Linked DNA regions of Homo sapiens: regions 1, 2, 3, 4, 6 and 7 are each linked to region 5. Evidence: promoter capture Hi-C in 16 types of primary human blood cells and fetal thymus (Javierre and others, 2016). All regions are on one chromosome and are shown on one strand. Each heading gives the region's core, a stretch centred on a gene start or on the middle of the fragment in contact. The rest is flanking DNA. Distances are from core to core; before and after follow the strand shown.

Region 1 (2,952 bases), core at 178-2,677, 630 kb after region 5:
AGCTGCCACGGCTTTTCTTTATTCAATAAGTACATGACTGCATTTGGTGAATTGTGTTTACACGTTCTGGTGAAATGAGATTTTAAAAAGAAAATGAATCAGGGAGTGTTTTTAAAGAGCACAGAGTGAGGAGAGGAGGTGGGGAGCGCTGCTGCCAGTCCTGTTCTGTTCTCTGCCTTTTGTCATCCTTCCCCCTCTGTATCTCTCTCCTCCATCTTCTCCTCCAAGGAATCACTATGCTCCTGGCAGGACATCCCTGGCGTCTGTCAGGGGAGAGAAGGAGGAGGAGAAATAGGAGAAGGAGAAGAGAAGAAAAAACAAAAGAGAAGAAAAGAACATCACAATTGACGTTGGAGAGTGATCTGTGCTAGGAGGAGTTCATCTCTGCACTTCCCCATTGGAATGACAGTCTCAACTTTACCCCAACTAGCCCCCCACCTTACATGAGCTGTAGGATCGACGTCGAATCTCTTGGCCTCTCTGAGCCTCAGTTTCCTCAGCTATTAGATGAGGATAATACCTGTACTGTTTTTGCCAGAGTGGTTGTAAGAAAGAAATGAGAAGCTTACGAAACCATAAAGCATGATGCCAGTCAAAAACATATAGTGATTTATATCTTAAAAAGATTTATTAGTCCTGGCACGGTGGCTCACACCTGTAATCCCAGCACTTTGGGAGGCCGAGGCGGGGAGATCACGAGGTCAGGAGATCGAGACCATCCTGGCTAACACGGTGAAACCCCATCTCTACTAAAAATACAAAAAATTAGCCAGGCCTGGGGGCACATGCCTGTAGTCCCAGCTACTCAGGAGGCTGAGGCAGGAGAATGGCTTGAACCTGGGAGGTGGTGGTTGCAGTGAGCCAAGATTGCACCAATGCACTCCAGCCTGGGTGACAGAGAGATACTCCGTCTCAAAAAAAAAAAATTATTAATATTCATTATTTATTTTAGAGACAGAGTCTCGCTCTGTCGCCCAGGCTGGAGTGCAGTACGATCACAGCTCACAGCAGCCTCAAACTCCTGGGCTCCAGCGATCTTCCTGCCTCAGCCTCCTGAGGAGCTGGGACTCTAGGCATGTGCCACCACCCCCAGCTAATTTTTTTTTTCTTTTAAGATATGGGGTCTCACTGTTTTGCCCAGGCTGGTCTTGAGCTCCTGGCCTCAAGTGATCCCTCTACTTTTACTCTCAAAGCACTGGGATTACAGGCATGAGCCACCATACCTGGCCTAAAAATATACAGTAATTTATAATTTTATTTCTATTTTCTCTTACAGGATAATTTATAAATTGAGTGTGTTTAGATTTCCCCAGCATATGGGCTCAGGTGATTTCACATTTAGAGTTAAACCTGAATTTTGCAGTCGATAAAAGAACATTTTGTTGGCTGTAAGCTCAGCTCATTCACACAGGCATGTCTATCCCTGCAAAGTTCATCCCTGATGCTTCTGTGGGCCCCAAGTGGTAACTTTATGTGCCTTCACAGATCCAGTTGAGGGCTCCCCTCACCAGTGCCCTTGCTGCTTCCCCAGCCTCCACCTTGCTGAAGAGCAGACCTGACCTCGCAGCTGAGCTTCAAAGCGCTCAGTGCTCACGGCTCACAAGCTGGCAGTCCTTTGGGAAGTGAGAAGGGAAGGGCTTCCTGGCTGTGCAGTTACACCCGGTTAAGTGGACCCCTCGGTGGTACTGGGGAGCACGGCGTAGCTCATGCCTACGACACTCGTGGGGCAGGGGCACTGAGGCAGCACCAGGACCAGCTGGTGTTCCTGACCCCTCTTGCTCCTCCTGCTCAGCCTTATGGTTGAGACTGGCTTGTCAGGCCTACCTCCGTCCTCTCTAGAACACTTTCTCACAGAGATTTAGCCAAATTCTCTTGGCACCTTGGTTGCTTTCTCTCCATGCCATTCCCAGTCCCCTATTCGTTCCCGCATAGATCTAATCCCCAACTGGGAATACATCTTGCAATTTTTTAGAAGATTCCTCATCTACCATGTAAATCACCAGATGAATAGAAACACCATAATGGACAGCAGTTTCTTCTAAAGCCAAAGCCAGGTATTCCTGGATTTCCGTTCCAGGCTGGTTGGGACTGTCTCCCCTCACCTCATTCACACTTTTTATGGTGAAATCTCCTGTGAATGGCATCATAATTGGCCCTTTACAGTCAAACAGAAGAACAGAAATCTTTTAAGTAATCTCCCAGATAATTGTCTTTTATTTTTCCAATACCTATTATACCTGGGAGTCACTATATATTTAAGGTGATGGAGATTTAAAATAGGGAATATGAGAAAGCTTAATATCCTTTTATGTCACTGAAGAAATAACAAAAGTTAAATCTCTAGTTGATGAATTATGAAGTAGCTGGTTCCTTATGAAACAGGATTCATAGGATTTAAAATAAATTTTTGTAGTTGGCAGAACTTTTATTTTTATGTGTCTCCTAGCATATGACTTCAGCAACACATAAACCCTTCTTTCCATTTTTCTTAAAATTCTAAGTAGTTCATTCACTTTATCATGTCTGTATTGTTCAATGTTAGCCCTATATAAGATGGTAAGTACAGTCTTTATCCATTATAAACTTAAAGTCTATAGCCATAGAGTAATTTATGAAACCAGTCACTCGTCCAGCATATATTTATTGAGTGTTTATTATGTGCCGGATGCTGGAGTGACAAAAAAATGAACAAGATGTAGATCCGGCCTTCAAGTGTAGCTGGTGATTTTCCACAAAACCCTCTATTATTGTATCTTAACATCCAGGAGTCAGCCAGGAGTTACACTGATCATAAATCGATAACCTCATTTCAAAGCTCAAACACAGAGATGGCAAATAAAGCCCTGGGCAGCACTGACTGAAGCAACAGATGACTCATTAATAGCAGGAGGCAATGAATAACTTTGCCACTGAGAGTGAAAGAAAATTCCCCCTTTGCACAATGCCTTTCAC
Region 2 (2,700 bases), core at 107-2,606, 950 kb after region 5:
GAGAGTGGTGTTGGAACTGGCTTATACTGGCCCGTAAAAACCAGCTTTAAATTTTGTGAGCTGATTGTCAAACACAATCATTATTAAAATTAAATTATATAGCCATACAATTAGATAAATCATATAAAAAAGATAGATAATAGTCAAAACTCAGTAATTCCTACTTATTTTACATTTTACTTTTTGTTCTTGAGATTATTTACATTTATTGTATTTGTATGGTGGAAATTCTATACAATCATCTGCAGCTGCACAGATCTCCCCAACTCTGTATAAGCTGGTATCTTGACATCAGTTATGTGGTTGTATTTATACCAAGGGAATTGGCAACACTACAAAGAAGGGGTTTTTGTTTGTTTGTTTTATTTAGTTTTTTCTTCCCCAGAGAGCTGCTTGCTAAATGTTTACCAGCACATCATTGGGAAGCCATGACACAAACCTGGATTAACATATAAGGAGGCCAAATTGACTTATCCTTGAACAGTTCTTTGCATCTGTTTTTGGCATTTCCATTTTACAATCCCTCCCCAGATAATAAATTTTTAAAAAAATTAATAAAATTTGTTTATTTGTACTACTTTAATCTTTGAAATTATGCTCTCTGAATAATCATTGCCCATCATGTCTCATGAGATCCAGCACAAAACAAAACTCACATTCTTTAAGAACTTTACCTTTCTGTCCCTAGATGCTGAGACTTTTGTTTCTCATTGTTTAAGTGTACAGCACTCCTTACAGTATTATCAATTCACAATTTATATTATTGTTTCAATGTGTATATATATATACACACACACAAGTATGTATATATACACACACATATAAGTTGTGTATATTGTTTCACACATATGTATACATACATAAGTGTGTATATATAGTATATGTATATATACACAAATTGTGGGTGTATATGTATATGTGTGTGTGTATACACACACAGTCTTTCGAAACACAGTTAATAATTTGAAAACATAACAATATTTTGTATAGATACCTAGTGGCACTTAGAAAATGAACCAACACCCAGGTGTTTTAAGGTTAATATTCTTGGATCCAATTGTTGTAATGTCCATAGAACCTTTCTCAAATTGCATCAAGGGATCTGAACATTAAATTATGTTCTTTTTAGCACTTCCAGTAATAAGAATTTGACAATCATAATTTGCCAATTTCCCTGATAGAACATAGGCAGAATAGCATCTGGTTTAGATTTTCCATTTCAGTATTGACTTTAAGATCTTCTTTGAGAAGAAACTAGGCTTTAAAATCTCATCAGGAGTAGCAATATGCACCATTTTACAGCCATTTTCTTCACAGACTTTCATCACACTTTTAAGAATAGAATTTGAAAGACAAAAAATTTTGGTGCATTTGTGAGATATGAAGTGGCAAATAAGGCTTTGGCTAACTTATAACCAAGGATGCTTTAAAAGATTCTTTCCAAACAAAAATAAATAAATAAATAAATAAAACAAAACCCACAATGTATGTTAAGTATGCCTCACTTGAAATAGCGAGAACATTTTAAATATTGTGACATGGCTATGATAATTTTCTGGGTCACAACAACAGTGGCTAATCTGAACATGAGAAATTTACATAAGAGCTAAGGAAAGTCTGTAAGGGAAAAGTAGACCAGAAGGTCTAGAGGTTATCTACACCAGTCCATGTGAAGAAGATGGAAAGTGAAGGGATTACCCCTTTGTCTACCTGACAATTACCTTTCTATAGTGTCTGGCATGTGCTTATTTAATATATCCAAATATATGTGGTTCTCAGAAAGACATAATGTCCTTGAATTTCATCTTTGTTATCTCTGTCTTCAAACAGAAGCGTGAGTGGATTTAGGTTTCATAAGCCTAACGTTTAACGCTTTGGAAGAGAGGGGCTATTTTTTAAAAAATTGCACAGTTACAAAACAAAATTAGGTTCAAGAGTGAATATTTAGACTGAAAAGAGAAATAATAATTACAATTTTTAAATGCTGAAAAATCCCTTAAATCTCACAAAATTAGAAAAATATATGTTTTCACTAGCTAATTGCTTGAAATACTTCTATAATACTTTTGTCTGTATTTCTGTACACTGACTCTTTATAGGACAATAATTTTGTAGTAATTTTTATAGAGAGAAGATAAAGATAACTCAGTCTTTTTGACAAGGTTGATCAAATTTTGGTTTTATCGTAGATAATTGAGATGCATAAAACATGACTTCACACACAGATGTCCTCCCTGTTTGTGGTACAGTTACAGACTTATGCCTCACAAACAAAGAGATTTTGACAAATTCTATTGTGCTTAATTTCTATCAAAAAAGGAAAAGCAATTGTATGGTGCATTTAGATTTGTCTATGTTGCATTATCAAACATCCTTCTACTAAAAAGGAACTTCTGTTTTTTCTAAGCATTGATAGGAATCATTTTAACTCATCTAAATACTGGAAGAATTTTCCGCAGACTTATCTCTGTTTCCATGTATTTCATACTTTGATTCCCCTCCAGTGTCATCATCTGGTGCCAGAAGTTGGTAAATATCTTTCATGGTGTAATGCACCCACTGACCCTGCACTTTTATAGTGTGGTACAGTGAGTAGCAATAGTCACCAAAGTTATCCCTCCACCAGAACTTTTCATGGAAATCACCACTATGTCCCCCAAACCTAAGTTAAATATATCCCCAACTTAACTTGTCTGTAGC
Region 3 (2,706 bases), core at 125-2,624, 980 kb after region 5:
AAAAGCATTCTCCTCCTCATTAAGCAAGTACCAATTAGATATATGGAATCCAAGAGCTGAAAGGGGTATAAGGAATTAACTCACTAGTCATCCTCAACTTCCACGCAAATAATGACTGTGAGAGCTAGTTTCCACAAATGTTCCCGCTTCAACAAACCATGCCTCCTGGAATTCACATCCTTGTGTAGCCCCTTCCATGAATTGGATGCTGAGCTTCCAGCCCTAGCTGTTCCAGTGGATGGTCCATGGATCAGATATACCACCCAGCTGAGGTCTTCCTGAATACTCAATCCAACAAAATCATGAGCAATATAAGAGAATTGTTTTAAGCTGATAAATTTTGGAGTAGTTTGTTTTTCAGCAGTAAATAACCAGAACAATGATCTTTCTATGTTCAAATATGCCTTATGGGCACTCATAATCATTATAATATTCATTCACTGAAAAAGTGCATAGTGGTAAGATGCTATTATTCATCAGTGCTTTTAAGAATTCTAGGCCGGGTGTGGTGGCTCACGCCTGTAGTCCCAGCACTGGGAGGCTGAGGTGGGCGGATCACAAGGTCAGGAGTTTGAGACCAGCCTGGCCAATATGGTGAAAGCCCATCTCTACTAAAAATACAAAAATTAGCCGGGGCTGGTGGTGGGTGCCTGTAGTCCCAGCTACTGAGGAGGCTGAGGCAGGAGAATTGCTTGAACCTGGGAGGCGGAGGTAGCAGTGAGCCGATATCATGCCACCGCACTCCAGACTGGGTGACAGAGGGAGACTCTGTCTTTAAAAAAAAAAGAATTCTAATAATAGTAATCATGAAAATTGTAATGTCTAATCTTTTTCAATGTTGTTTGTGTCCAAAGTGCTCTTCCAAAAGCTTTCCTTAATTATACTATTTAATAGTCATAACACTGTGATGAAGAAGGTATTGTTAATTACATCTTCATTTTACAGATGAGGAAACTGAAACACAGAATGATTAACTTTTTTCACTGTCATCTAGCTAATAAGGAATTGTTACATATTTTATTCATTACAATAGTAAGTAGGTGCGTTTGATACATTGTAGTTCATAGGCATTTAAATATTCTATTTCTTTACAATGCTCAGTACAATGTGCAATGCTCAGTATTTTGGTAAATTCACAGTCACTTTATGATAGCTCCAGGATCTCCAAGGAATTTATGGACTACAGTTTGAAATCCATTGGTCTAGTCCAATTTCTATTACTCTTTTTAGAAGAACTGAGATGCACAGAAGTTATAAGAATTTCCTAAGTTCACATAGTTAGCAACCTATTCAGAACTAGAATTCCTTGTTAGTAATGTCCACTGCAGCATCTTTATACTAATCTTAGGGGATCATCAATTACTGTTTGGATCTTTGATTCTTTACATCTTTCTATCAGAAGTGTACTCTGACATTAGCTCTTATTTAAGCTAAAATTATCAAAATCCTCTCTTGTTGTGACATACTAGTTTTTAGAAACATTTGTATAATTGTAAATTATTATGTCTTCTTATTATTTCAGTTACTGTTTAAGCCTAAAGAAATAAAGTAATACCTTTTAAAAAAATATCTAATATGTACCATTATTCAGATCAGCTTTACTGCACATTAGTCTTTTACTGTCCTGTGCAAAACTAAATAAAATATATAAATTATCCCTATCTTGGTTTCACAACTGGTTAATACTGTCTGTTGTATTTGCTGCATCAGCCTTGCTCTGTGGGCTGGAGCAATTATCAGTGACCAAGTAATCCAACTCTTCTTTATTCTCTCATTGCCTTAACCCTTTTCTACACTCCAAGGGCAATCAATACAAATATCTTGCCAAAGTCCATTTCTTGTGCATGATACTGCTTAACATCACTCAATCATTTGAGTGGAAAGCTTTACAGGAGTTCATCTTAGGTGAACTTGAATATGCCCATTTTTCTTTGAGAGTGGAATGAAGAGTTCCAAACAAGTCATAAAACTGTAAAAGCAATTTCAAGAGTCCATCCTGATTGTTCCCACTGTGAAATAGAAAGAAGCATCGGGGTTTCAAAAACATTCATGTACTCAAGGATATATCAGTAACTATTTATTGAACATTCCTGCAGAAAACATCCTGTAAAGTTGGATGAACCCTGCAGTGGTTGGATGAGTTATTTACAGAGGTCTCAAGGCAGGGTGTCCTTATTCATGCTGAATATGAGTTACCTAACAATAAATCCAATAGCACTAAAAAGGAATTTATGACAGAACACTTCCATGAATTTATTGTTAGCATTAGAGGCATTGGTTCCATATCATCATGAATTTGCAGATCTAGAAAGGACCTTGAAAATGTACTTAAGCCTCCTCGTTTTATCTACAAGTGAATATAAACCCAGACCAAAGAAAGGCAGTTTCTGTGACTTTTAATGATTTATCCTAACCATGGGCTTATGTGTTTATATCCAGTAGGCAATAGCAAATGGTGAGGGTAATTAGTCAGTTACAGGAAATAATCAAAACAAACAAAGACAATTCTTGGATATTAGGAGTTATAGAAGGAACTTGAAAGTAAAAATAAAGTTTGAATTGTAGGTAGTTCCCTAAGCAAAGGTTATAATATCAGAGATAGTGTGTTCTAATCTACTAGCTCCCTCTGTCCTTTGGCAAAGAACAATGATTTCAAGGAATTCTACTCACAATTATCCTGACAATTGTAATGACTAACCTTCACTC
Region 4 (2,833 bases), core at 98-2,597, 810 kb after region 5:
GTTTAAAAAGAATAAAGGCCACCTGTCCAGAGACCTAGAATATAGAATCTAGTTGGATGATATGTAAATTAACATAGTGTTCTCAGCTCAAAATGTGTAGAGGTACTATAGTCCTGATTTTACTTTTAAGATACTTAAAATTTAAGATTGAGAACAGCCTTCTATAGACTGATGTGGACTCCATGCTTCATCATAGAAGTCTGAGTATTGCTTATTAATGAATCATTTTCATAACATTGTATTAGGAGTTACATATAAATTTGGCATCACTTTGATACACTAAGCTTTTATAGACTCCAGAAGTAGATAAAGAATTTCTAACAGCAGTAATGGAGAGGTGTGAATGCCACCAGCAATTCAAGATTCTGTTCCAACTCAGGAAACATACTACCCCAATCAAAATTAATTTCCTCCCCCTTTGGCATTTTTCTCAACCATATGTAGTTTTAAAATTATTGTGGTGACTTCTATCGCTCTTTTGAAAATATACAGGATGTATTTATCGAAGATAAATATAATTTTACTTAGTATGTTTTCTGAAATGATAGCACACAATATATATCAGAAAATAAGGCAATTATATGATAACTGTTTGTGAACTGTATTTGATTCTGCCAGATTTTATGAAAGATATATGTTTAACATATGTAAATGTTTATATTAGATCATATGGAATATAATTTTCGTATGCCTTTTAAAGAATTATGGAATTCATGTTCTTCCTCAGGAGAGTGATTTCCAAAGTGTCTTAGATTTTTGCGTATGACTCCACTTCAAATCCTCTGTGATTTGCATCATGCTGTACCATTTGACCCAGCAATCCCATTACTGGGTATATATATAAATCATTCCATTATAAAGATACATGCAGACATAAGTTCACTGAAGCACTATTCATAATAGCAAAGACATGCAATCGACCCAAATGCCCATCAATGATAGACTGGATAAAGAAAGTGTGGTACATACACACCATGGAATATTATGCAGCCATAAAAGGGAACGAGATCATGTCCTTTGCAGGGACATGTATAGAGCTGGAAGCCATTATCCTTAGCAAACTAACCCAGGAACAGAAAACTAAACACCCTATGTTCTTAATTATAAGTAGGAGCTAAATAATGAAAACACATGGACACAGAGAGTGGAACAACATACACTGAGGCCTGTCGGAGGGGCCGGGGAAGGGAGAGCTTCAGGATAAATAGTTGATGCATGCGGGGCTTAATACCTAGATGATGGGTTGATAGGTGCAGCAAACCACCATGGCACACGTTACCTATGTAACAAACCTGCATGTCCTGCACATGTATTCCAGAACTTAAAATTAACTTTTTTTAAAGTGCATAATCTTCCCAAATAACTGAAGTTATTTGTCTTCTGTTAATTCACAGAGAAAATAGTGGCATAGATGGATGCATAGATAGACGAATAGATGGATAGATAAATATATAGATAGATAGAAGATAGATAGTTAATACATATAAAATAATATCATCTAAATACAGAATTAAGACTTCAAAAATTACAGTAAATGGAGACACAATTAGACTTTAAATACATAATGAGAGTTATGTTCAGAACTATAACCCTTAGCAGTCTGTAAGAACATTTTACATTGTGGATCTTTATTGGTTCCCACAATTATGTGAAAAAAGGCCAAACTATATACATTTTACAGAAGAGAAAACAGGTACCAACATTAACAACCTTGCTGAGTTGCAGGCCATGGTTACGTCAGAGTCAGGAATTGATTTCTGCAGAATTGCTCCAAGTCCAGATGTTATCCTGCTAGACTGTGTTTCACGAGACAAGTAGAATTCTTCCCTATGGTTTAGTTTTCCTTAAAGTCCTTTCAATTTCAGAATGAGACACTCTTGAGCAAATCATGAAGAATTTAAGAAAGTAAGAAATTATTGATAATAATTACAAATTTATTTAAAAATGCAGAGTAATAATAATTTTATTCTCTCCCTATTTTCAAACCTACCCTCAGCAGAGATTTCAAACTTGGATGATGCTCAGAATCAGCTTCAGGGCTTTTGGAAGATAGTGATTTCTACACCCCAGACTTACATATTGCCCAGGAATCTCTGTTTTTGTAAAGGTCCATAGCTGATTCTGATGCTGAGCTAGGTTTGAGAACTGCTGCTTTAGAAAAATATGTTAGAGTAATTTTGGTGGAAAACCTATTAGAAAAATCAAATAGAAGACAGTACATAATGTATTTACATACCATAGTCCACAGTTCTGAAGAAAGTGCAGATTTTGTGTAGCCAGAGTTTATATCAATCAGGGAAACTTCTTTTTTTAAGAAAAAGAAAACATAATTATCAAGATGAAATTAGTTTTAAAGAAAGAATATTTACTAAGAGTGAGAAAAGTAATCACAACAAATTATACATTTTAAAGAAGCTTAAACCTACCACAAACATTATTAATTGCCTAACGCAACACTGTGCTTCACAATATCCTAGAAATTGCTCCACATTATTCAACAAACAACTTCCTTATTCTGTTAAAGGAAATAATGTGCACTGTGTAGATCTACCATAGTTTATTCAATCACTCTCTTATAAATGGGCATTTACATTGTTTCTAAGATGTTGCGATGACAATGAATGATTTTTTTTGTGTGTGTTTGTATGTGTGTGTGTGTGTGTGTGTGTGTGTGTGTATCTTCATAGTATTGGATGTGCAACTTCAGAAAAAAATCCTAAAATTGGGATCATTGGGTCGTAATGTAAACATATATGTAATCATTTGGATATTACCAAATTTTATCCCCTAAGGTTTGCACCAATTTTCTTTCCCACCAGCAATATATGAGGGT
Region 5 (3,035 bases), core at 323-2,822:
CAAGATTTCAAGTAAACTCCAGACACTGAGAACACCTAATTTTTAACTAGTTTCCAACATTTCTCATTTGTAATCACCAAATTATCTTAGAGACACTTAGATAACCTAACAAAGAGAGCATTTTTTAAAAGCCACAACCCAAATTTTACATGAAATACACCATTTTCACAACCTAAATTTAATCCCGGTTGCCACTGCGAAGTGATGCCTGTTTCAGCAAATTAAGAACTTCCAAAAATACTGAACACGTTAACACATGCATGGCTTCCCTCGAGCTGCCATTTAAGATTAATATTCCACTTAAATAAAAGTCTGCTTCTGTTCAAAAAATTAAATCGGTTGCAAAGAGGAAGTTACCGAGAAACCACCCTCACAACGTGGCCTTTACACTGTCAGAAAATAACGTGACTCTGTGCCACCCAAAACTTACCAGGAAGCTGGCAATAACTTTGCCAATTCTACACTCCTGAACCCAACTTCAAAGAGCCTCCACCAAATACCTCCTTAAGACGATAAAAAGCACTAAGTTACAAATAAACACGTCCCGGAGCAAGGCCCGGCTGCCGCGCGCCCCTCCCCCGGCCGGCGCCCCCGCCCCGGACGCGCGGCCCCAACAGCCGCCCGCAGCCCCCAGCACGCCGGCCGGGGTCGCCGCGCCCGGGCCGGGGACGCGCCCGGGGAGGGGAGATTTCCATTGCCGCCCGAGGTTTCACAAAATAGCATGCACCGAAAAGCTCCTTCTCCTCTGCTAAAAATAGGCTATAAAGGAGTCGGCCTCATGATGGCTCCTTGATTCAATTTGCTGCAAATCCTTTCCTGAAAGCCTCCCCCCCCAAACACACACGCACAAAAAGGGGGTGTAAATGCACGAAGGGAGGAAGAGGGGGAGAAGGCCGAGGTGCACATTTTCGGGGACAACATAATTAGGGTGAGGATCCCCCGAGACCGGGAAAGGGTAGGGGGGTGGGCAGGCACGTGAGCATTTCAAAGAAACCTGAGAGAGGAAAACGGGGGGATGGGGGCGCCCCAAGTGCCCTCCCTGCCTTCCCTTCCCCCACGCAAGCCCAGTTCCCCCAAGGGCCAAGTTGAAAAATGCATGTTCCACTCGCGCCCATCCCCCCGCGGCCCAGCGCCCCCGGCCGCCTCTGGCCCGCGCCCCCCGCCCAGGCCCCCGGCCGCCCCCACTCCAGGGTCCGGCCCCCAGCGCTTACCTGGAAACGGTGGCCTCCAACGCCGCTCCCCCCTCCCGGGAATGGAGGCACAAGGAAATTCCCCTCCTCGCCGCCGCCGCCACCGCCTCCAACCACCCCCAAAATAACCCCTCCGGGGGGTGAGAGGCAATTATAACCCCAGCGAGCGGAGGGCGCGGGGGATGGGCGCCGGGCGGGCGGGGGCGGGGAGCGCGGCGCGGGTCCCCAGGTGGCGAGCGGAGGTGCTCCCGCCGCGGGGGGAGGGGCGGGGGCGCACGCGGCCGGCGGCGGGGGGAGGCGGCGCGCGGGGGAAGGGCGCGAGCGGGGAGAGGAATTGAGGCAGAAGGTAAAAGCTGTTACTAAGGGAAAGAGCCAAACGGTTCGGAGCAGCCAACGGCTCAGACACTCAACACTGGGGAGAGAGGAATGGGGACCAGCCAGGCACAAATGAGCTCGCGAGGCCCGCGGCGGCGGCGGCGGCGGCGGCCGCGCAGCAAAACAAACCCGAGCGGCCTGCGCCGGGCGGGCGGGCGAGCGGGCGGGCGGGCGCGCGGGGGAGGGGCCGGCGGGGGAGGGGCGCCGCGGACGCCGGGAGGCGGCGGCGGCGCGGCGGGGGGGCTCCAGCGGCCGCGCTCCTCTCCTTCCCGGCCCGCTCTGGCGGCACTGGGGGCTGGGCTGTGCGGCGCATTCTTTTAAAAATCAGGCGAGCCCCGCGGGCACTCGAAGGCGCCTCGGGGCCCCGGGCCGCCCGCCCCGCCCCCACCGCCGCGGGCCGGCCTGGGTGTGCTCGGGTGTGGGCCGCTGGGCCCGAGACGGGTGGGGGCGGGGAGGCCCGCGCGGTGGCCGGGGTGGAGCCGCCGGCGAAGTTTCCCCAAGGACGCCGCGGGCTCCCGCGTGTCCGGGGGGCGGCCCGGCGGCGTTGGGGGCTGGGCGCACACGCGGCGGGCATGTGGGGGAGTGCGGCGCGGCATCATATGGACATTTGTTTGTGAAAATCTCTGTGAACACCTTTGTGTGCGTAAATACATATGGTTCTCCGAAGCGTACCTGGAAAGGTGCTTTATCTGTAATAAGCGACTTTCAAAATGTGATCCAGAGCACGGGATCTGGAGAGAAAACACGCACACAAGAAAAGGTTTTTGATACTAAACACAAAGCTGTAATTGAAGTATTTATGCCCAAATGTACTGTGAATCAAGCATATGGTGGTATTTATCATCTGGTGGGTCTGTTTGAAAGGTTTGCTCGATCAGTTCTTATTTCACAAAAATAAAATAATGTAACTAAATGTTTACTAAATATATACCTGCACAGTGGCATCCACAGTAGAAGTTTATCCACTTTGTGTACTTTTTGCATGTGTGAAGCACAGCAAGGCGGTTTATAAAGTATAACTTAGATGAGTGATAATGTGGCAGTATGGTTGAGGGAGGGTTGTTTTTAAAGAAGGGAGGCACCTCACAGGTTTTAAAGCAAATGGGGTGGTAATCTTTCTAAGACTTTCAGAAAGATGGGGTAGGGTGCTTTTTAGAGCTTTGTATAAGCTCAGGACTGGAGAAGCAGCCACCCTTTTACATTAAGATACGACTTGAAACCTTTTTGTTATTTCGCTTATTACTGCCTTCAAAGCAAAATAATGTTTGCAGCTTTCTTAAAGGTGAAGGGTTCTGTTTTCCTACTTTCATCAGAATATTTGAAAATAGATGTAGTGATCACTTTAAAGCAACCATCATTTCCTCTCAATATCAGAAACCTGAAGTTTTGCGACACACACACACACACACACACACACACACACACACACACACTACTCGTAACTTGCACCAGTCTGGACTCCTGGTGGCC
Region 6 (2,900 bases), core at 179-2,678, 610 kb after region 5:
GGTTCGTGGTCTCGCTGGCTTCAGGAGTGAAGCTGCAGACCTTCATGGTGAGTGTTACAGCTTGTAAAGGCAGTGTGGACCCAACGACTGAGCAGTAGCAAGATTTATTGCAAAGAACGAATAACAAAGCTTCCACAGTCTGGAATGGGACAGGGCCCTAGGGTTGCCACTGCTGGCTCAGGCAGCCTGCTTTTATTCTCTTATCCGGCCTCACCCACATACTGCTGATTGGTCCATTTTACAGAGAGCCAATTGGTCTGTTTTACAGAGAGCTGATTGGTCCATTTTGACAGGGTGCTGATTGGTGTGTTTACAATCCATGAGCTAGACACAAAAGTTCTCCACCTCCCCACTAGATGAGCTAGATACAGAGTGCCGATTGGCGTATTTACAAACCCTAAGCTAGACAGAGTGCTGATTGGTGCATTTACAAACCTTGAGCTAGATACAGAGTGCCAATTGGTGCATTCACAATCCCTTAGCTAGACACAAAGATTCTCCAAGTCCCCACCAGATTAGCTAGACACAGAGCACTGATTGGTGCATTTACAAACCTTGAGCTAGACACAGAGTGCCAACTGGTGCATTCACAATCCCTTAGCTAGACATAAAGATTCTCCAAGTGCCCACCAGATTAGCTAGATAGAGTGCCAACTGGTGCATCCACAAACCCTGAGCTAGACACAGGGTGCTGATTGGTGTGACAAACCTTGAGCTAGGCAGAGTGCTGATTGGTGCACTCACAATCCCTTAGCTAGACACAAAGGTTCTCCAAGTCCCCACTAGACTCAGGAGCCCAGCTGGCCTCACCCAGTGGATCTTGCACCGGGGCTGCAGGTGGAGCTGCCTGCCAGCCATGCACCCGCACTCCTCAGCCCTTGGGCGGTCGATGGGACCCGGCACCGTGGAGCAGGGGGCGGTGCTCCTCTGGGCACGGGGGTGGGGGCGGGGGCGGGGGGAGGAGGGAGAGACTCAGGCATGGCAGGCTGCGGGTCCCTAGCCCTGCTTGTGGGGAGGCGGCTAAGGCCCGGTGAGAAATCGAGCACAGCAGCTGCTGGCCCAGGTGCTAAGCCCCTCACTGCCCGGGGCCAGCGGGATTGGCCGGCCACTCTGAGTGTGGGGCCCGCGGAGCCCATGCCCACCCGGAACTCGGCTGGCCCGCAAGTGCCCTGGGCAGCCTGGTTCCCACCCACGCCTCTCCCTCCACACCTCCCGGCAAGCTGAGGGAGCCGGCTCAGGCCTTGGCCAGTCCAGAAAGGGGCTCCCACAGTGCAGCGGCAGGCTGAAGGGCTCCTCAAGTGCGACCAGAGTGGGCGCCAAGGCCGAGGAGGTGCCCAGAGCGAGCGAGGGCTGCGAGGGCTGACAGCACGCTGTCACCTCTCAATACTAATTGATAATAAATGTTTCTGGAATGCTGAATTGCATGAAGGAAATGAGAGAAAATCACATAAGCTGCTTTCAAGTCCCGACCTCTGAGAACAATGCATATACCTTTGGACAGCTTATTAAAAGGAAAATTTCAGGATGTGTACAATGTTATTTTCTGTTTATTCCTGGACATGAACATAATATTTAATTAAACTCTGAGAGGTAATACTAATAATATTTGTGAGACTGTACACTAGCTATAGAATGACAAAAGTTACAGCTTTCATAATCTTTTCCTGTGGAATAACACATACTAACAGAAAATTGTTTGCTATTTTCCCTTTAGCAAGGCTAAGGTATTGTCCAGTGGTTTGGCCAGTGAAGTCAAAATATCCCCACCATTTACTTGGTGAAAACCACTGAATCAGTTTCTACGAGGTAGAGAGAAATAACCTCAGAAGCTAGCCTTATAGACTCAATTTATAAAGTCATGGTAAGTCTAAAACAAACAAACAAAAAACAAACAAACAAAAACCTCCCCACCAAATGTAAGAGAAATGAAGAAACAAGATTCCAGATTCAATTTATATAAGTTTTCTCTTCGAAAAAGTTATTTCTAAGAGCCCTGAAAATAAAAACCATTTTACCTAGTTATAGAGAAAATTATTTTTCCAGATTTTTTTGGCAGTGTTTTAGGTAGAAAAAAAGTTTTGTAATGAGATTCTCCTTCCATAATTATTCGTATCTGTGCATTTGGTAGGTACTGAACACACTCCACTGTATCTCAGAAGGGATCTACAGATAAAGATGACTCAGCACAAACAGTTCCAATCTGAAGCATTCAGAGAATCTCTTCTTTCCTTGTTCTCAGATGTTTTGAAATAAACATTGGCAGTGTTTATTTATGAAGGTTCGGGACTTTTTGAATGTGTCAGCAGCATGCCTTGACTCTAAACAGACTATGTTGCAATTTTTTTCCCTGATGATTCAAAACTATAAACTTAAAATTACCTAATTAAAAAGATACTGAACTACAATAAACTTGGACTACAACTTCAGTTATGTACCTTGTCTGAAATTAGATCATTTCAATAACCCCTCTTCATGCCAAAGACAGCGTTTCCTCTTAGTGCATAAACATCCTCTGAACTCTGACTGAGGGTTCTTTGTTGCTTGATCATTGTTGTTTTGAACGATATAATTTTAATTCTTTCCCTGTTTTGTTAAATTGAGGATTTTGGCTCAAATTTATTTTTCTTAATAGGCTATGAGTTACACGGAGAAGTAGAAAGAAAATAGCTCAAGAGAAGTGTCAACAAATACTGTTGGGGGGGTACTCAATTGTTTAAATAAGAATTTAAAGCTTAAGTTTATTGTGAATAATTCTCATTCTGGAGAGATGAAACGAAGAACCTATATATACTGCAGTCTAATGATAAATATTTAAAATCCAACGAGAAACACTCATCCGACATACATATTTCTAGCATTTTCCTGATGTTGGTAATGCATTAATAATGCTTCAATTGATT
Region 7 (2,866 bases), core at 209-2,708, 890 kb after region 5:
AACTTGCATACAAATGCTAGTTTCAGGAACACAGAATTTTTTTCTATAAGAGGAAGAGAGAGAGTTGCAAATCAGTCAAGGCCACTGGAGCTAGCTCATTGCCTCAATATGTTGCTATTTATTTTGTGATTACAAATTTAAAGCAAACTAAATAAACGTCTTCAGCTTTAAAAGGTACAAGTGCATTATACATTTCATGACTAGCACTGTCTTTTTTCTATAAACTACAAAGGAAGATAATGAATGCAGTTGAGCACATACTGTGAGTAGGCTGGTCCAGCCTATATTTTATAGGCTGTGCAGAATAGCACCCTTGTAAATCAAATGGATGTTGAACATTGGACTTTGAGTCAGGAAACATGAGCTCTAGTCCTGATATCACTGTTGAGTAGGCCCATGAGGTTTTTCCAGTGAATTAGTCTGTTTTGGCTTCATTTTCCTAGATGTTTTGTATAAATGTACTTTTAATACATCTCAGCATTTATGAATATTTAGTAAGCACACACACATTGCCTGTTGAATTGACAAAATAAGAAATTGGGTTTGATTTTTTTCTAAAGTTTTATAATGTTCTAGATTTTTATTTGTTGAACATGTCCAGGTACTGGATTCTTTTAGAAGTTATTCCAAATAAAATACAAGAATAAGTGGGCTTTTCTGAGTTTTCTGCCAAGGACACAAGGCATGTCAAAGTCTTTCAGCTAAAGAAATGTGACTAGAAATAGGATATGATATGTTAAAAGAGGTCAGATTTAAAAATAAGCTAAAACATTTTCTAAGACTTCCCATTAATAACATGCTACATTTTAGAAAAGGCACTAGGCAAGGAATCAGCAGATACATGGAATTTATTAACTGTTTTAGCACTAAATACCTCAATAAATTTGGCTGTCCCTTATTCTGTCTGGCTCCTGGTTTTCTCAGCTGTGAAATGAACTGCAGCATTGTGCTGTAAAGGAATAATGAGGGTTAGGTCAAAACATCCAATAGTCAGTCAAGAAGAAGCAAGCATTTGGGGAAATCCATATAATAAAAAAGCACCATATTCAACCAAACAGAAAAACTGATACCCAAGTCATCAATGTAGCAAACAGAAGTGTGTGTGTGTGTTTCAAAATGTGTTTTTAAAAATTCTAGAAACTTGTCCCTCAGTGGCCAAGATGGCTGACTACAAGCAGCTAGGGTATGTGGCTCTCACAGAGAGGAATGAGAGGGTGGAGTAAATACAGCACCTTCAACTGAAACATCCAGGTACTTGTATTGGGACTAATCAAGGAAACAACTTGACCCACAGAGAACAGAAAGGCAAGGCAAAAGGATGGCCCACCCAGGAGTGACATGGAGCCAAGGGAACCTCCCCTGCCAGGGAAGTGGTAAGTGAACATGTGATCCTGGAAAACCACACTTCTCCCATGGACGCTTGCAACCCTTGGGTCAGGAGATCCTCTTGTGAACTCACTCCACCAGGGCCTTCAGTATGATATACACAGCTAGGTGGAGTCTTGGCAGATCAGCCATTTGTGCACACAGAGAGACCTAGGTGCTTTACATATTCCTGCTCTGGGCTTCCCAGCAAAAGTAACAGCAACTCCAGCAAAGTGGGAGGTTAGACCTCTGTACGTACCACTACGAAAGAGGCTGAATTCAGTGGGCTGAGCAGTGATGATCTGCGGGCCTCATTTCCACAACATCTCACAAGATAAAGCCCACAGTCTTGGAATTCCAGCCAGCTACCAGGAGCAGTGTTGCACCTACTTGGGGAAGAAATCAAGGGGTGGGGAGGAGCAGGACGCCATCTTAACTATTTGGAAAACTCAGCCATTCCAGCCTGTGGGTGGAAGGGATCTCCCAACATAGCACAGCTGCTCTACCAAAATGTAGCCAAACTGCTTCTTTAAGTAGTTCCCCAATATGTTTCTCCTCACTGAGTGGGACCCCCACCCTGAACTAGGACCCCTTAGCCACCCCTGCTGATGTTCTCTGGCCAAAAGAGATTTGAAAACTTCCTAGGACAGAGTTCTCAGAGGGATGAATGGGTCACAATCTTTCCTGTTTGGGTGACTTAGCCATTCCAGCCTCCAGGCTTTGGAGAGCCCAAGCTGACTGGGGGTGGAAGTTGTACTCCAGTACAGCACAGCTACTCTGTGAAAGTGTGCCCAGACTGCTTCTTTAAGCAGGTTCCCAATCCCATTCTGGCTGACTGAGTGAGATCACCTAACTAAGGTCTCCAGCCACCTCCTACAGGTGTGTTCAGGCTGGCAACAGGTCCATAGCTCCCTAGGATGGAGCTCCCAGAGAAAGGGGCAGGCTGCCATCTTTGCTGTCTCACAGCCTTCACTGGTGATCCCTCCAGGTACTGGAAAATCTGAGGTGACTAGGGACTGGAGTGGACCTCCAGCAAACCACAGCAGCCCTGTGGAAAAGTGGCCAGACCGTAAAAGAAAAAATAAAAATCGAAAGGTAAGCAATCTCAAAGATTGAAGGTAGATAAGCCTACAAAGATGAGAAAGAATCAATGCAAGAATGCTGAAAACTCAAAAGCCAGAGTGCTCGCTTTCCTCCAAATGACTGCATCAGTCATTTGGGTTCAGAACTGGGCTGAGGCTGAGATGGCTGAAATGACATAAGTAGAATTCAGAATATAGATAAAATCGAACTTCACTGAGCTAAAGGATCATGTTGTAACCCAATACAAGGAAGGTAAAAATCATAAAACATTGTGGGAGCTGACAGACAAAATAGCCAGCCTGAAGAAGAACACAACCAACCTGACAGAGCTGAAAAACACACTACAAGAACTTAATAATGTGATTACAAGTATTAATAGCAGAATAGACCAAGTGGATGAAAGAATCTCAGAGCTTGA

The links. Contacts are between HindIII fragments. The CHiCAGO score rates a contact against its expected background, and 5 or more counts as called.
Region 1: a contact is called between a fragment that was not itself captured here and the fragment with the promoter of TBL1XR1 in region 5, in 1 of 17 cell types (M1 macrophages). The highest score is 5.4, in M1 macrophages.
Region 2: a fragment that was not itself captured here is called in contact with the fragment with the promoter of TBL1XR1 in region 5 in 1 of 17 cell types (total CD4 T cells); the score reaches 6.5 in total CD4 T cells.
Region 3: a fragment that was not itself captured here is called in contact with the fragment with the promoter of TBL1XR1 in region 5 in 1 of 17 cell types (endothelial precursors); the score reaches 5.1 in endothelial precursors.
Region 4: a fragment that was not itself captured here is called in contact with the fragment with the promoter of TBL1XR1 in region 5 in 4 of 17 cell types (monocytes, M1 macrophages, naive CD4 T cells and 1 more); the score reaches 11.2 in monocytes.
Region 6: a contact is called between a fragment that was not itself captured here and the fragment with the promoter of TBL1XR1 in region 5, in 1 of 17 cell types (total B cells). The highest score is 6.3, in total B cells.
Region 7: a fragment that was not itself captured here is called in contact with the fragment with the promoter of TBL1XR1 in region 5 in 1 of 17 cell types (fetal thymus); the score reaches 5.5 in fetal thymus.

The regions. Positions count from the first base shown.
Region 1 is chr3:177,824,802-177,827,753 of GRCh38, forward strand. The region is part of intron 1 of LINC02015 (long intergenic non-protein coding RNA 2015); the gene reads left to right. Among named protein-coding and RNA genes, the nearest start is that of LINC02015, 9.4 kb to the left of the region's middle. RefSeq lists enhancers at 1,139-1,639, 1,640-2,140. The HindIII fragment of the contact is 1,730 bases long and covers 563-2,292 here.
Region 2 is chr3:178,146,869-178,149,568 of GRCh38, forward strand. No RefSeq gene overlaps it. Among named protein-coding and RNA genes, the nearest start is that of LINC01014, 270 kb to the right of the region's middle. The HindIII fragment of the contact is 2,764 bases long and covers 1-2,700 here.
Region 3 is chr3:178,172,344-178,175,049 of GRCh38, forward strand. The region is part of intron 10 of LOC105374235 (a long non-coding RNA gene); the gene reads right to left. Among named protein-coding and RNA genes, the nearest start is that of LINC01014, 250 kb to the right of the region's middle. The HindIII fragment of the contact is 1,016 bases long and covers 867-1,882 here.
Region 4 is chr3:178,008,019-178,010,851 of GRCh38, forward strand. No RefSeq gene overlaps it. Among named protein-coding and RNA genes, the nearest start is that of LINC02015, 190 kb to the left of the region's middle. The HindIII fragment of the contact is 2,131 bases long and covers 283-2,413 here.
Region 5 is chr3:177,195,910-177,198,944 of GRCh38, forward strand. It overlaps TBL1XR1 (TBL1X/Y related 1), which reads right to left and starts at 1,573. Exons shown (of 16, transcript NM_024665.7): 1 at 1,212-1,573. RefSeq lists silencers at 615-664, 1,145-1,244, 1,355-1,544, 1,785-2,164 and enhancers at 1,150-1,659, 1,660-2,167. The HindIII fragment of the contact is 6,955 bases long and covers 1-3,035 here.
Region 6 is chr3:177,808,078-177,810,977 of GRCh38, forward strand. No RefSeq gene overlaps it. Among named protein-coding and RNA genes, the nearest start is that of LINC02015, 7.3 kb to the right of the region's middle. The HindIII fragment of the contact is 2,602 bases long and covers 128-2,729 here.
Region 7 is chr3:178,088,849-178,091,714 of GRCh38, forward strand. No RefSeq gene overlaps it. Among named protein-coding and RNA genes, the nearest start is that of LINC02015, 270 kb to the left of the region's middle. The HindIII fragment of the contact is 3,765 bases long and covers 1-2,866 here.